Linked DNA regions of Homo sapiens: regions 1 and 2 are each linked to region 3. Evidence: promoter capture Hi-C in 16 types of primary human blood cells and fetal thymus (Javierre and others, 2016). All regions are on one chromosome and are shown on one strand. Each heading gives the region's core, a stretch centred on a gene start or on the middle of the fragment in contact. The rest is flanking DNA. Distances are from core to core; before and after follow the strand shown. Region 1 has its middle 2.9 kb from the start of GCK. Region 2 overlaps YKT6 (YKT6 vesicular SNARE protein). Region 3 holds the start of AEBP1 (AE binding protein 1).

What was found. Contacts are between HindIII fragments. The CHiCAGO score rates a contact against its expected background, and 5 or more counts as called.
Region 1: a contact is called between a fragment that was not itself captured here and the fragment with the promoter of AEBP1 in region 3, in 3 of 17 cell types (endothelial precursors, M1 macrophages and megakaryocytes). The highest score is 7.5, in endothelial precursors.
Region 2: a fragment that was not itself captured here is called in contact with the fragment with the promoter of AEBP1 in region 3 in 3 of 17 cell types (endothelial precursors, megakaryocytes and M1 macrophages); the score reaches 7.2 in endothelial precursors.

Annotation. Positions count from the first base shown.
Region 1 is chr7:44,189,971-44,194,735 of GRCh38, reverse strand. No RefSeq gene overlaps it. Among named protein-coding and RNA genes, the nearest start is that of GCK, 2.9 kb to the right of the region's middle. The HindIII fragment of the contact is 3,494 bases long and covers 1,154-4,647 here.
Region 2 is chr7:44,206,601-44,210,934 of GRCh38, reverse strand. YKT6 (YKT6 vesicular SNARE protein) reads right to left here. Exons shown (of 7, transcript NM_006555.4): 4 at 3,443-3,547; 5 at 2,737-2,802. Among named protein-coding and RNA genes, the nearest start is that of YKT6, 7.8 kb to the right of the region's middle. The HindIII fragment of the contact is 1,678 bases long and covers 1,751-3,428 here.
Region 3 is chr7:44,102,397-44,107,125 of GRCh38, reverse strand. It overlaps AEBP1 (AE binding protein 1), which reads right to left and starts at 2,781. Exons shown (of 21, transcript NM_001129.5): 1 at 2,208-2,781; 2 at 239-580. The coding sequence starts at 2,460. The HindIII fragment of the contact is 6,426 bases long and covers 1,048-4,729 here.

The DNA.
Region 1 (4,765 bases), core at 1,651-4,150, 87 kb before region 3:
GGAAGACAGACAGAGTCTGCCACCAAAGGTTTGAGCTCTGCCACTGGCTACGAAGCAATAGGGGATGTCAGAGCAAGGGAGGAACAGGACAGGAGTATACGTGGGCAGGAAGGGATTACAGCCAAGGAAGACAGGAGGCAGGTGCCCTGATTTTGAGGCTGTGCCCCAGCAGGGGCTTCCCAGAAGCTGTATTTGTCCTAAGACACCCCTCTGCAGCTGAGGGGCTAGAGATGGATATGTAGCTGTGTTAGGCCATTCTTGCATTGCTATAAAGAAATACCTGAGACCAGGTAATTTATAAAGAAAAGAGGTTTCATTGGTTCACAGTTCTGCTGGCTTTGCAAGAGGCATGGTGCTGGCATCTGCTCAGCCTTTGAGGAGGCCTCAGGAAACTTACAGTCATGGCGGAAGGCAAAGGGGAAGCAGGCACATCACACAGTGGAAGCAGGAGTGAGAGAGAGAGAGGCACTGGGAGGTGCCACACTTTTAAACAACCAGATCTCGTGTGAACTCAGAGCAAGAGCTGACTCATCACCAAGGGGATGGCCCAAGCCATTCATGAGGGATCCACCCCCATGACTCAGACACCTCCCACCAGGCCCCACCTCCAATATTGGGGATTACAATTCAGATGAGATTTGGTGGGGACACATATCCAAACCATATCAGTTATCAGTAGCCATACTGGATGAATGCCAGGAACTTAGAATTAGGACACATGGTCATTTAGGCAAGTGGCTTGTCCTGTCAATGGTACCCTGATAGTCGTGGGGTTGCCCCGTACAAAAAGCGAGAGGAAGTCTACAGAGCTGTCAAAGAGGGGCAGGTGGAAAGGCCTGCAGAGGAGTCCCCTGCTCCACAACCAGGCGTGCACCTCCCACATCCTCGGGGCTGTAGGCCCCACATGAGAGCAGAAAGAAGGATGCAGAGGAAGGCCAAGAACACAAGGTGTGCCCTTGGAAAGGCTGGGCACACCAAACACAACCTAATAAACAACAGCAATGAGCACACAGGGAAAGTACTCACAGGGAAACCATCATGAACTAGAGGCTGATCCCACACCCTGCCACATGGGGCCCCAGGCCCCAGCCTATCAACCAGTGGTCCTTATTGCCACAGCGATTGGTCTTTGGATAGGCACCTGATGCAAGCTTCAGCCAATCAACAGGCCACTCAGCTGGCCATCAGTAGGCCATCCAATCAGAGCAAAGCCCAGGACTTTCTTCGACTCTTAAGAAAAGAGAAGCAAAGTAACTGGCACAGATTGGAGAGGATCAAGGAACCCCGAGCTGGATACATACAAACTTTGGGTTAACATGGATGATTAAATACATATGTTTATGTGAACCACCTCCCAAATATGCTCCACTATAATGACACAAGACAAAGGGCAGGGGGAGACCAATTGCAAGGTGGCGCAAATGAGAGATGCTACCAAGGGTGGCGGGGGAGAGAGGGGAGCAGTTGTCAAGTTAGGAGGCAACAGGCTGAGGGACAGGGACCAGCAGACGGGGAGGGAGGGGCTGAAGCAGAAGTGTCCAGTGTCTGGAGGGATGGGGCCAGAAAGGCAAGGGGCATCCTGAAGAAGCTATACCTGGGGAGGGCAGCTCTCTCCCCACCTGCTCCCCAATTCATCAGCCAGGAATGCCCCATCCACCCCACCCCAGGGAGGAGGACAGAGGACTTTCGTTTGGGAGCATTGAATGGTTCAGAGATTCTGCAACTCTGCGGTCCCCAACTAAACTGCTCATTGTTTCAAGCAGTCCCTGTTGGGTAAATGTCCCCCATTGTAACCGGACTCGGATTCCACCGCTTGAAAGCCAAATACAAGAGGAGAGGTTTGGTGGGAGGAAAAGTGGTTTTAACTAGAGCCAGCAAACCAAGAAGATGGTGAATTGTTGTTTTAAAGCATTCAATTATCTCAAATTTTAAAATTTATCATAGGATTCTGAAAGGAAAACTTGGTATGGGACATACGTGGGAGCAGTGCAGGGTACAGGGTCTATGTGTCTTGATCCAATGGCTGTCTTGAGTATCACCTATCCTGAGGTCTGGTTGGTGTTATCTTTCCTTCGGCCAGATGGTGGTGGGTGAATTGTTTCGACTCCCCCTAAGTTGGAGGATTCCGCAGGGGTTCCGTGTCTGGTTTTTGTTTCAAGATTAGCCCCTGGAATTCCCAAATAAGCATAGAGTTAGATAAGCGGGCATGGTGCAAAGGAGTGTCTAGTGGGAAAGGGAGAGAAGCAGAGTTTCAAAGTACATTTCAAGGTTACATTTTAAGACTAAAGAAAAAGCCTTAAAATGCATTTTTAAAGCTGATTTAATGCTTGGCTACACTAGGCTGTGGCCAGTGTGCAGTGTGGCTGCTCTTGGATCAGGTGATGTTTCATCAGCTGTGTCCAGGGAGGGCAGGGCCATGTGGCAGAACCTGGGACCTCTGTGTGAGGGACTACCTTGGCCCCTGTCCTTAGCAGGAAGCTATGGTAAGGAACCCTTAGGGAGACATTAAATTGGGGAGACCGTCCCTGCCAATCCTTTAACCTCCCCAGCCTCAGCGACCTCAGTTGGAAAGTGGTGGTAATAATACTACCACTGACCAGGTGTGGTGGCCAGACATTCCACACTTTGGCTTCAGCCGCTCCCTCCCCACTCTACTGTAATCCCAGCACTTTGGGAGGAAGAGGTAGGCGGAACCTGAGGTCTGGAGTTGAGACCAGCCTGGTCAACATGGTGAAACCCCATATCTACTAAAAAGAAAGTACAAAAAATTAGCCAGGTGCAGTGGCACACGTGTGTGGTCCCAGCTACTCGTGGGTCTGAGGCATGAAAATTGTTTGAGCCTGGGAGGCAGAGGTTCCATTGAGTGGAGATCGAGCCACTGCACTCCAGCCTGGGTGATAGAACGAGATTCTGTCTCAAAAAAATAAAAATAAAATAATAATAATAATACCACTGCCTGCCACACTAAGATTGTCTGATTAGATGACAGAATGAATGCAAAAGTACTTTGTGAATCATAAATGTTTTCATCAATATTAGTTATAATGACAATTGCTCCTTCTCCTAATAAATGTATTGCCTTTCTTTAGGAATAAATATAACAAGAAATGTGTAAGATATATATGAGAAAAATAATAAAATTCACCTGAAGGACATAAAAGAAGACCAAAATAAATGAAACAACACATACTTCTAGATGAGAAAACTCAATATTATAAAGAGGTTAGTTCTCTAAAATGAATCCCTAAACCCACAAAGTCAATGTATTTCCAATGAAATTGTCAACAGCATTATTTTCCGAAGTGGGATGAGTAGTGCTAAGATTTATAAGAAAGCCAACATTCCAGAGCAGTGGGGAAGGGATTGCTTCACCACCAAATAGCCATATTAGAGATTCCCTTGCACCATACCCAAACCACCATCTCCCAGGACCCGGGAGAGCAGAAAAGAGGAATGAGAAGAAAGGCGAGGATGTGAGGTGTGCCCTCATAATGGCGGTGCACGCAGCACAAGCAATTGCAGAAAGACTAAAGTACTGAACAAATAGAAAACTTGGAAAAATATTAGAAGGAAATGTGGGAGAACATTTTTGCAATTTGGGGATTGGAAACGGTTTTCTTAACAAGATATAAAAACCCCAAAACAAGAAAACAAAGGTTGAAATTCATAAAAACTAGATACTTCTGTATGATGAAAGACACGATTAATCAAGTTGTTAAGTTTAGCAATAGACTAGGGGAGATATCATAGTATATTTAACAGACAAAGGATTAATAGATACTACAGATGAAATATAAAATAGTTTCTCCAAGTCCATAGGCAGAAGATAATCCAATAGCAACATAGTTAAGTAATGTAAACAAATCATCCTTAGAAGAAGAAATGCAATCACCAAGAAACACATGAAAAGGTGTCCAGCATTTTGCAATTCAAGCAACAATGAGGTGACAGATCGGCAAAAAACTCATAAAGATTTATCATCTGAAGGATTGGCCAAGATAAAGCCAAACTTCTCGTGTTGGCAGAAGAAACTGGTGAAGCCATGTGAAGAGGCCACGTGGTCCTGCCTACCAAGATGTAAAATGTGTACAGCATTTGAACTAGCAATTCAGCCTCCAGGAGCCATCCAGAAGAAACACTGACACACACTTAGACTCCGGTGAAATTCAAGGACTTCTGCCACAGCCTGCTTCGTAATAGTGAAAATCTGAAACTGCCTCAATGACCGTCAATAGGAAGTTGATTTTAAAGTGTTACAGCACATCTGTCTGGAGAGATCGCACTGGCCACTCCTCCTCACCCCCTCTGCTGGACCTCTGAGCGTAGGTGGCCTGGAGCTGGGTCCTGAGCCCTCTTTGGTCTATACCGACACTACCCAATATGGTAGCCACCAGTCACGCTGGACACTTGAAAAGTGGCCGATCCTGACTGAGAAGGGCCACGAGTGGGAAAAACACACCAGACCTCAGTGACTTAGGCAGAAGTATGTTTTGTTCCAGACTATTGACTGAGCCCGCAGCTGAGTTGGCTCCAGCACCCTGGCCCCCTGCTCCATCCACTCACTGGGACTCCCCACTGCACAGGGCAACCTCTCCAGGGGCACTTGGGCTGCGAAGGGGAGAGTGGGTGGCATCCCAGGCTGAAGCTTCCTGAGCAGGGCCAGAGGAGGAGCCAGTCCCTGTGGGCCTCTGTTCTGACAGTGTCAACCTCAGCCAGGCTTGTGTGGGCCAGGTGTACTGTTCTGGTTCAGATTTCAAGGAGATAG
Region 2 (4,334 bases), core at 1,340-3,839, 100 kb before region 3:
TACCTGGGTTCCTCTCCAACACACACAAACTTCACCTCTAGGTGTCGAGACTCGGTCCAAGAATAGTTACTGTCCAAGTGGATGGAACAGAACCTGGTGACATTCCCGTGAAATCTAGAAGATCTAACTGGGATGTAGCAGACTTCCCAAAAAGCTGTCCCCAGCACAGGCTTAGATAACCAGCACTCCAGGAAAACTCATATATATATATACACACACATTTATATATACATTTGTGTGTGTGTGTGTGTGTGCACGCACATGTGCGTGTGCATGGAGCTTTGGAAAAAAGAGTAGCTGGGCACTATATGATTGTACTGGGTTGGAGAGTGACCCACACCGCACCCCCCAACCCCAACCGCATCCCAGAAATTAACATCCCCAGAATCTCTGAATGTGACCATATTTAGAAATAGGGTCTTGGCAGATGTAACTAGTTAGGAAGAGGTAATACTGGATTAGGGTGGCATCTAATTCCATGACTGATGTCCTGGTAAGAAACGGAAACACACACACAGAAGGTCACGTGACGGCAGAGGCAGAGCCTGAAGTGATGCACCTCTAATCCAAGGAATGCCAAGGATGGCCAGCAGCCACCAGAGGCTGGAGAGAGGCCTGGGACAGACACTCAGAGCCCCAAAAGACACCAGCCAGGCCCACAGAGCTATCTGTTAAAAGCAAATATTTGAGGGTTTCTGTTGACAGCAGCCACAGGAAACAAAAGGCGGTGGGAAATGGCTATTGAGCACTTGATGTGAGGCAAGTCCAAACTGAGCAGCGCTCTGAGTACAGACACACCAGATTTCAGATGCAAACTCACACATGCTTCATTAGTAAGTTTTATACTGAAAAAAAAACAAGTTTTATACCGATTACATGTTGGAAAAATTGTATTTGGATATACTGCGTTAAGTAAAATATATAATTAAATTAAATTCTACCTATTTTCCTTTTATCATTTTAAAATATGGCTCCTAGAAAATTCTAAGTTACACACATGCCCCAAATATATACCAGACAGCACTATGACAGAACATGTCCTGCCTTCTAAATGGGCTATGTCCTAAATGTCATCACTACAAACTCTGACTTAGGAAATGAAAACACTGACCCCATGGGAAGGGGTCTAGAGATGGAGACCTCACAAGAGCCAGCAGCTCTGCTGCCAGGGCCCTCAGGAAGCAGCAGCTCGCTTCTCTCCTCAGATGGCCACTGCTGCAGCAGCTAGATGCACACATGAAGCGCCATAGAACAAGGAGCCAGCAAGAATGTCCTTCATCCCTACACACAGCTGAGCGACTCAAATTTTTAACACAGAAAGTTAACTGATTCAGATATGCACACCAATCATCTAGATTTTACAACTGCAGCTAGATGAGGCTGGGTGAATAGGACTCATCCACTCCCCACCGTGGGGAGAGGAGAAACAGCGGGTGTCCCAGGTGTCATGGTACTCAGACTAGGACTTGAGCAACAGAAAGAGATGGCTTGAGGAGAAAACGGAGAAATGCCACCTAGGTGGTAAGAAAGCTCACAAGGTTTCAAAAGACACAGATACCATGAGACTTTCACATCTATCGTTCATTCCAAAGCCACGTTATTTGGAGTGCAGTCAGCACACCTGTGTTTGAAGCCCCTGGGATGCTTTTTATAAAATGCAGGTTCCCAGGCTCCATCGCAGGCCAACAACTCCAACCCCAGGAGACGCTGATGTACACACTAAAGCTATGCCTGTGTAAATGGTAAAGCTTTGTATGTGGGTTTCAATCCACTCCAGGTATCTATCAACTGCTGAGCATGGTATAAACTAGGCACTGTATCATGAGCAGGATGGAAAGATGTCCCAGTGCTCATACGCTGGTCAGGGAGACATGTAAACAAGCAGTGACAAAACTGTGACATCTGGTCAGAAAGGCCCAACCTTCAGGCGCCTGTGTGTGAGCTGGGCAAGAAAGGGTATAAGAGAGAACAGGGCCCAGTCAGGAGACTGTGAGTTAGTTTGCACTTTATCCTGGGGCGGATCTGAGAGCTGCTGAAGGGTTCTAAGTTGTGCAGATCAATGACTACTCTCTGGTGGACAGACTGGAGGTGAGCAGGAGGCAAGGGGACCACTTAGAGGCAAAGGCTGTAAGAGAAAAACCTGAGAAAAACAGATAGCTGCTTACATTCCACTTGTATGCAAAAATTTAAAAAAAAAGAGTTGAAGCAACAGTTACAAATCAGGAGATTTCAGCTCAAAATGCAGGGTTCTGGCTCTTTTCAAAGGGGCCTATGTGACAACCCTGGGCCCATATTCCAGAAGCTGCCCTGTGGTCAGTGCACGGTGCTTCAATCTGTTCACCTTCAATGCAAACGCTGCAAGGGGAGGCACCTGTGGGGTGTGGAGGCACCCGAAACCCTAACAAAGGCACCAGGGTGGGAATCCAGGTCTTCAGAAGCCAAACCCTAGGAACCCAGTAAATGGTCAGACAGGCAGTAGCCATGAGGAAGGGAGACTTGAGGGTTCCACTGGTTCCCAGCTTGGTCCCCTAGAAACAATGGGTGCCATTAACCAAGAGAAGGGTATAGGAAAGACAGTCTGATGCCCGGGGTGGGGGAAGGGGTGGGCAATCCCACTTGCTGGAGAGTGCCGTGGTTACTATTATATTAAAACGAGGATGGATCTGTGCATGCCTGGCCAGTGGAAATCGCACCCCCGCCTCAGTTCTTGGGCTTGCTCTCCATCTTCCTGCTTACCAGAATGATTTTGGTCTCATCTAGTTCGGCCTGCACTTTAGTCATGGGATCAGCTTCTCGTGGGTTCTAGGAAAGAGTGAAAAATAATAAAGTCAGGACTGGAGTGGCTACCTGCAAACAAAACCTAAAACTGAGGAAGCTGGACAAACTTTCACAGGTTAAAAACCACAGCCTGGGCCGGGCACAGTGGCTCACGCCTGTAATCCCAGCATTTTGGGAGGATGAGGCGGGTGGATCACCAGAGATCAAGAGTTCGAGACCAGCCTGACCAACATGGTGAAACCGTCTCTACTAAAAATACAAAAATTAGCCAGGCGTGGTGGCACATGCCTGTAATCCCAGCTACTCGGGAGGCTGAGGCAGGAGAATCGCTTGAACCCAGGAGGTGCAGGTTGAGTGAGCCGAGATTGCGCCACTGCACTCCAGCCTGGGAAACAGAGTGAGACTCCAACTCAAAAAACAAAAAACAAAAAAAAAAACCCACAGCCTGTTTAACATGTAACAGAAACCCAAAGCCTGCCTAGAGCTTGGGTTCCCCGGTCTGAACGTAGATTCTCTGTTTTCCAAACAGTAAGGCTTGAGAGAGGACACCAGCATCAGAAGCTGTCAGAAGTAATTAGACCAGAACTATCAGGGCAGTTGGCTTTTTCAGTTTCACATGGATTCTGGGCCACATGGTGTCTGCTGAAGCTTCCTTTAACCCTACCTGGTATCTACTGAGGTGACCATCCAGGGCTGGGTAATGGATTGTAGCAGGGGATCCTACTGGCCAGTCTATCCTGTCGACTTGCTTGGAGAATTCATCTAGTACCTGCAAGACAAAGGAGACTCAACAAGCCTCCCACTGTGCACTCACCAGTGGTCTCAATGACAGGGCTTCACCCCTGAGCACCTCACCCTGAATGAGGCTCCTTGGCCTTCACAGCCCAGGAAGGAGGAATGAGGGGGACATATAATGGCAACAGAGAAAATCTAGGCTAAAGTTCTTTCCAAATTTTTATCATTAAAACATATCCTAAATATTCTGAGAATCAAAAGTATGCCCAGCCCGAGATGAACCTCACTTGGGGAGTAATAAAGGTATTTGAATTTTAAACTACAGATTTCCAGAAAAAAGGGGCACTGGTCCTCTAATTTTCCAAAGCAATTTTTTAAAAAAGAGAATTAGGTCCCCTAGATTTAAGAAACCACCAGATTCCATGTGTTTGGAGGTATTTTGGTGCTCTGGGGTATAGGATGAAGCCTCTGACTTCAAAGAGTTAATATTAGTAATTAGCACCGTACGCAAAAAAATTTAAAGAATGCTTAGGTGCTAAGCTCTGTGGTGCAACTGACTGACATCAAGGTAGAGGGATGCAGCAACTGCAGGAGGCAATGGGGAGAGTGAAGGCATTCAAGAGGGAGACTCCTTGAGCAGAAGCACAGGGGGCGAGAACACAAGGCACAGCTGTCTCCGAGGGTCCCATCCCAGAGAATAGATGCTATGACTCAGTGGCCTAGACCCAGCTCACATGAGGGACAGCACCGGGGAGGAAACCCATACAGGGATGCCAAATTGTCTCTTGGGTTGCAGGGAAGGGGGCTGAAAAATGTGTTGA
Region 3 (4,729 bases), core at 1,532-4,031:
CTGAGGGACAGAGGTCCCACCCAAAAGGCTGCCAAGCCCTCTCCCTACCCAAAAGAGGCTACAGCACTGAGGGAGCCCACCAATCAAATTGTGAAATTTATAGCAAAAGTGAGGTTCCCATCCAGTGGGGAGCTGAAGGTCTATAGGAAGCAGGGCCCCAGAAACCTGCCTCCCACTCCCTGCCTCCACCCGAGCAGGCAGTCAGAGCCCCATCACCCCAGAGGAGCCCGGCACAAACCTCCCTCCTGGGGTAGCTCCTCGGGGCCAGGGCTGGGGGGTGGGGGCAGTGGCCACTCCAGGGTTTCTGAGGGAGCCAGAATGGGGGGCCTCTTCCCTGACGGGGGCTTCTTGGTGGCCTTGGGTGGCTTCTCTTTGGGCTTCTTGGTGGCCTTGGGTGGCTTCTCCTTGGGCTTCTTGGTGGCCTTAGGTGGCTTCTCCTTGGGCTTCTTGGTGGCCTTGGGTGGCTTCTCCTTCCCCTTCTTGGGCGGCCTGGGGGACCCCTCCAAGGACTCCTTGGGCACCTTGGGGCCTTTGTCTTTCTTGCCTTTCTTCCCTTTGTCTTTGGTCTTTTCCGGAGGCACTGTCCAAGATGCAGACTCGTGTCAAATGAACAGAGCCAGCTCTGTGCCCCCATGAGGCCCCTCTCTAGATGCCCAGAACCTGGGCACAGGGACTCTTGTCAGTTCCCAGTGCGGATCAGCAAACTGAGAGGTTAAGTCATTTGCCCAAGTGGCAAACTGGGATCCGGACCCAGATTTTCTGTCTGCAAGTCTGGGGCTGTGACCACCAATCTCAACCTCTCTAAAGACTGAGCGTAGGGTTCCCAGTTCCCAGGGGGAGGCCCTCATCCCCCCACCTGCCAAAACCTCAATAGGGGTTCCTTACTATCCACTCCTCCACTATTCTGTTCTGGGCACAGAAGGGGCAGAGAGGTGACTGAGCCATCCAGGCCTGGAGGAGCATCTGGTCATCCCTGCCAACTGCCATACAAAGGAAGGGACATGGGCCCAAGACCTTCCCCTGGTCTCCTACGGGGCAAGAAAAGCTTCAAAGAAAAGGGACACTTGGTTGAGTATTGAAGCCCAAAGAAGAGGAAGTGGTCTCCTTTCGAGAAGTAAGGGGTTTGGAATTGATTGGAAGGATAGGGAGTCCTGGGGGGTTCAGGGATCACACAGAGGACAGAAAAGACAGGTAGGGAGCTTGTGGCTGCACACTCATTTCAGAGTCTGGGAGAGGGAGCAGGGACTGGTTGTGAGGATTCCCCATGGGAATCCTCCCAGGACCCTAAGCAGGAGCTGCAAGTGCTGTTGAGAACCTGATGAGAGGTGGGGAGCATGAGGGAAGTTTGGCAGAAACACAGGAAAGCTACCAAATGCAGACAGCCAGGGGACGCAGGGCTGCTAGAGCGGTGCCCCAGAGCCAGGAGAGCAAGCCTGGAAGGAGAGCCAGAGGCAGGAGGGGCACAGGCAGCCCAGGGTGTGGGAAGCAGCCAGGAAAGATCTAGAGCTGGGGTGGCAGGGGAGGGGCTGCTGACATCAGGAATGTTGGATGGTGCCTTGGAATCTCCTGGGAGACAGGGATCACAAGACCCTCTGCCACCTTCCAGAGGGCCACGATGAAAACAGCTAAGATTTACTGACAACTGATTATGCAAGAGGCCGTGGGTTAAATGCTTCAGTGATGCATCACCTCATCTAATTTCCTGTACTAATGTAGGACCACCCATTGCTCACCACCACCTGAAGCCCTGTGCTCACCACCACCTGAAACTCTCTCACCTACGTGAGACCTCCTGGAGTAGGAGGGCAAAGGCAGGAGGGAGGGACGACGTGAAGCTGTGCCACCAACAGGGAGAGTGGTCCCATTAGTATGGCAGGGGGTGACACAGCACAGTCCCCTGTGGCTCAAGCCTAGTACCTGTCGCGTACTGGAGGAATGGGGATAAGCGACCCGTACAACCACAGCACCAACCCTAGAGCCACCGGCCCCCAAAAGCGGCCCTGCCGCCCGGGTGCTGGATGTGCCTCCACGCCAGCGCTGACCTCGGCCTAGCACAGGGTCCCTCCAGGCATCTGGGCTCGCGTGCGCATTAGTAAGCCAGCCATTCCTCCCCTAGCAGACTGGGGAGTGGCCAGACCCTACCGAATCCCCCTGTTCCCACCTGAGATGCCAGCCCCCCACACCCCCGCCCTGCCCTGGGCTCTTACCTTCTGCGGCCGTCCCTGGCCGCTTCCCTGGCTTGCCCCCCGCCTGGGCTTTTCGGACCCGCGGGGTGGGCTCGGGAGGCGGCGGGGCCTCCACGTCGTCCTCCCGGGGCTCAGGTTCTAGCTCTGACAGGAAGCCCTCGAGGAACTCCTCGATCTCGTCGTCGGTCAGCACCGTCTGCGGGCGCCCTCCAGGGCACAGGGCCAGCAACGCCAGGAGGCAGCTGAGCAGGGGCGCCCCGCGCACGGCCGCCATGGCCGCGGCACGCGCGGGGGGCTCCGGGGAGGGCGCGGGGGGTCAGGGGCTCTGGGTCTCTGGGAAAGGGCGGAGAGGGGATCGAGACGGGTGAGGGAATCCAGGAAGGGGCGGGAGAGAGGATGGGGTGAGCGAGGGAATCCGGGAAAGGGAGGGAGAGTGGATTAGGGTGGGCGAGGGGACCCGGGAAGGGGTGCTGGGGGGCTCCGAAGCCAGAGGGGCTCAGGGGTGGTCGGGGCGCTCCGAGGTCCTGGCGGCTAATAGGCGCTCCGGCCCCGCGTGGCGCACTCCCGCGCGGATAGCCGTCTCCAAAGCGCTGGCGGGGCCCGGGGCGGGGGCGCCGGGGCTTCCGGAGCCGGCTCCCCACCCCCGGGGAGGAGGAGGAGGAAGAGAAGGAGGAGCCGAGAGTGGACGGAGGGGCTGCGGGGGGGCGGGGGGCGGGGGGCGGGGGGCTAGGGGCGGGGCAGGCGGGCGGGCGCTGGCGGCGAGCGTCCCAAGCCCGGAGACTTGCGCCTAGGACAGAGGGGCAGGGGGCGGGGCGACTGGGAAGACAGAGGGCCTGAGGGAAGGAAAGGTGGTGGGGAGGGCCTGGGGTGCGGGTCTGAGGGGGCCGACATCCCTCCTCCTTCTGCCCTAGGCACCCCCCTTAAGGCGGGACCCCGAGTCCACCGGGGCTCTGAGCCCTCCGCGGGTGACCAGGAACCCTGGACGGAAAGCCGTGGTGTCAGGCCTCTGAGACCTCTCTCAATTCGGAGGGCCACAGAAAGGCCACCCCATCCTTCCCAGGCTCTGGAGCCTCTGCCCATGGGCCCTGCTGCATCCCAGCGTCAATTCATTCAGTCATCCTACCAACCTCTTCAGGTCGGTGTGGGGCCGGGCCCCGTGCTGGGCCCCAGGGAGGGACAGCACAGTGGGAACTCACTTTCCAGCCAGGAGGCAGGTGCAAAACTGCCCTCAGAGTGGCCAGCTGCCCCGCTGGGGGTAGGAGTCCCATGTAAGGGCATGCCATCCCTCCCCTCCGGGTCCCAACGTGGACAAATAGCCATTTATCACCTTCTTCTTACCAGAACTCATTTTTTAAAAAGTGTCTACCATACCTCCAGCTGCCACATGGACCCAGAGGGCCCAGAGGACCCAGAAGGCAGGTGGATTGAGTGTCAACTGATCCCAGGATCCATCAGGGATGTGCACCTTGGTGCCTGGTGTTTGCCATAAGGCTTCTCCAGGGCAAATGTTGGCTGCCCTACAACGGCCATCAACAGGCAGAGTGGTCCCATTAGTATGGCAGGGCGTGACACAGCACAGTCCCCCGTGACTCAAGCCTAGTCCCTGTCTCATACTGGAGGAATGGGGAGCTAAGGACAGAGCTCCGAGGACATTCCCCCTTAAAGGAATGAGGACACAAGAGAAAGCTCACAGGTAGTCCATGGGCCAAGTGCAGAGGCAGACAGCCCTAAGCCACGATTGTCTGCGGGGTTTGGCCCCAGTGAAGTAGTCAGGTAGGGAAGCCTAGGAGCCCCTGGGATGATTGACAGGGCAGAGTTTGGACCTGGGGTCAAAAGGAAAGAGGAAAAGTGGGTCAGGAAGCACCTGGGTCCCCAGAGCAGCCCCGAGTGAGTTGGAGCAGGCAGCAGCCGGGGAGGCCACAGTGGAGGCTGCTGGGCCTGGGATACATGCCACCCCCTGGGAGCAGGACCACAAGGAGGCCTTGCCTCCTCTCACACCTGGTCCTGCCAAGACCCTGCCTTTGCTTTCTCACTGCATCTCCTTGAAAAAGCAGTGGGACTGTGTCAGGTTCTGGCTCTACCTCCCAGGCACCACATCTCGGCAGGTAGCCTCAGTGCCGTCCACCTGTGTCCCTGTTCTCCTTGTCGTTCATACAGGATCATGCATGTGCTGTGCCTAGCACACATTCTTGGCACTCACACTGCTGCCTTTTAGCTCTCATCATTTGCCCTCAGAGATCAACCTGAGCTGTGCCCACTGGGGCGCTCAGAGCAGACCCTGAGCCCCAACACCCAGGCTCCCTGTGCACCTGAGCCTGCCTCTGCCTGCCACGTGCCCCCAGGCCAGTCCTGGTGGCAGCAAGGATCCGCAAGCTCTCCCCTTTCCTCATCCTCTGCAAAGCTCTGAATCATCTTTCTCAAAACTTGTTCTGGGAATTTGCTCCGTTGCCCCAGTTGAGCATGTCAAGCCCGGCGGCCCAAGGCTGGGGTGAAGCAGCGTGGCACGTCACTTCCCTGGGAACAACTCACACATGGATTGGATT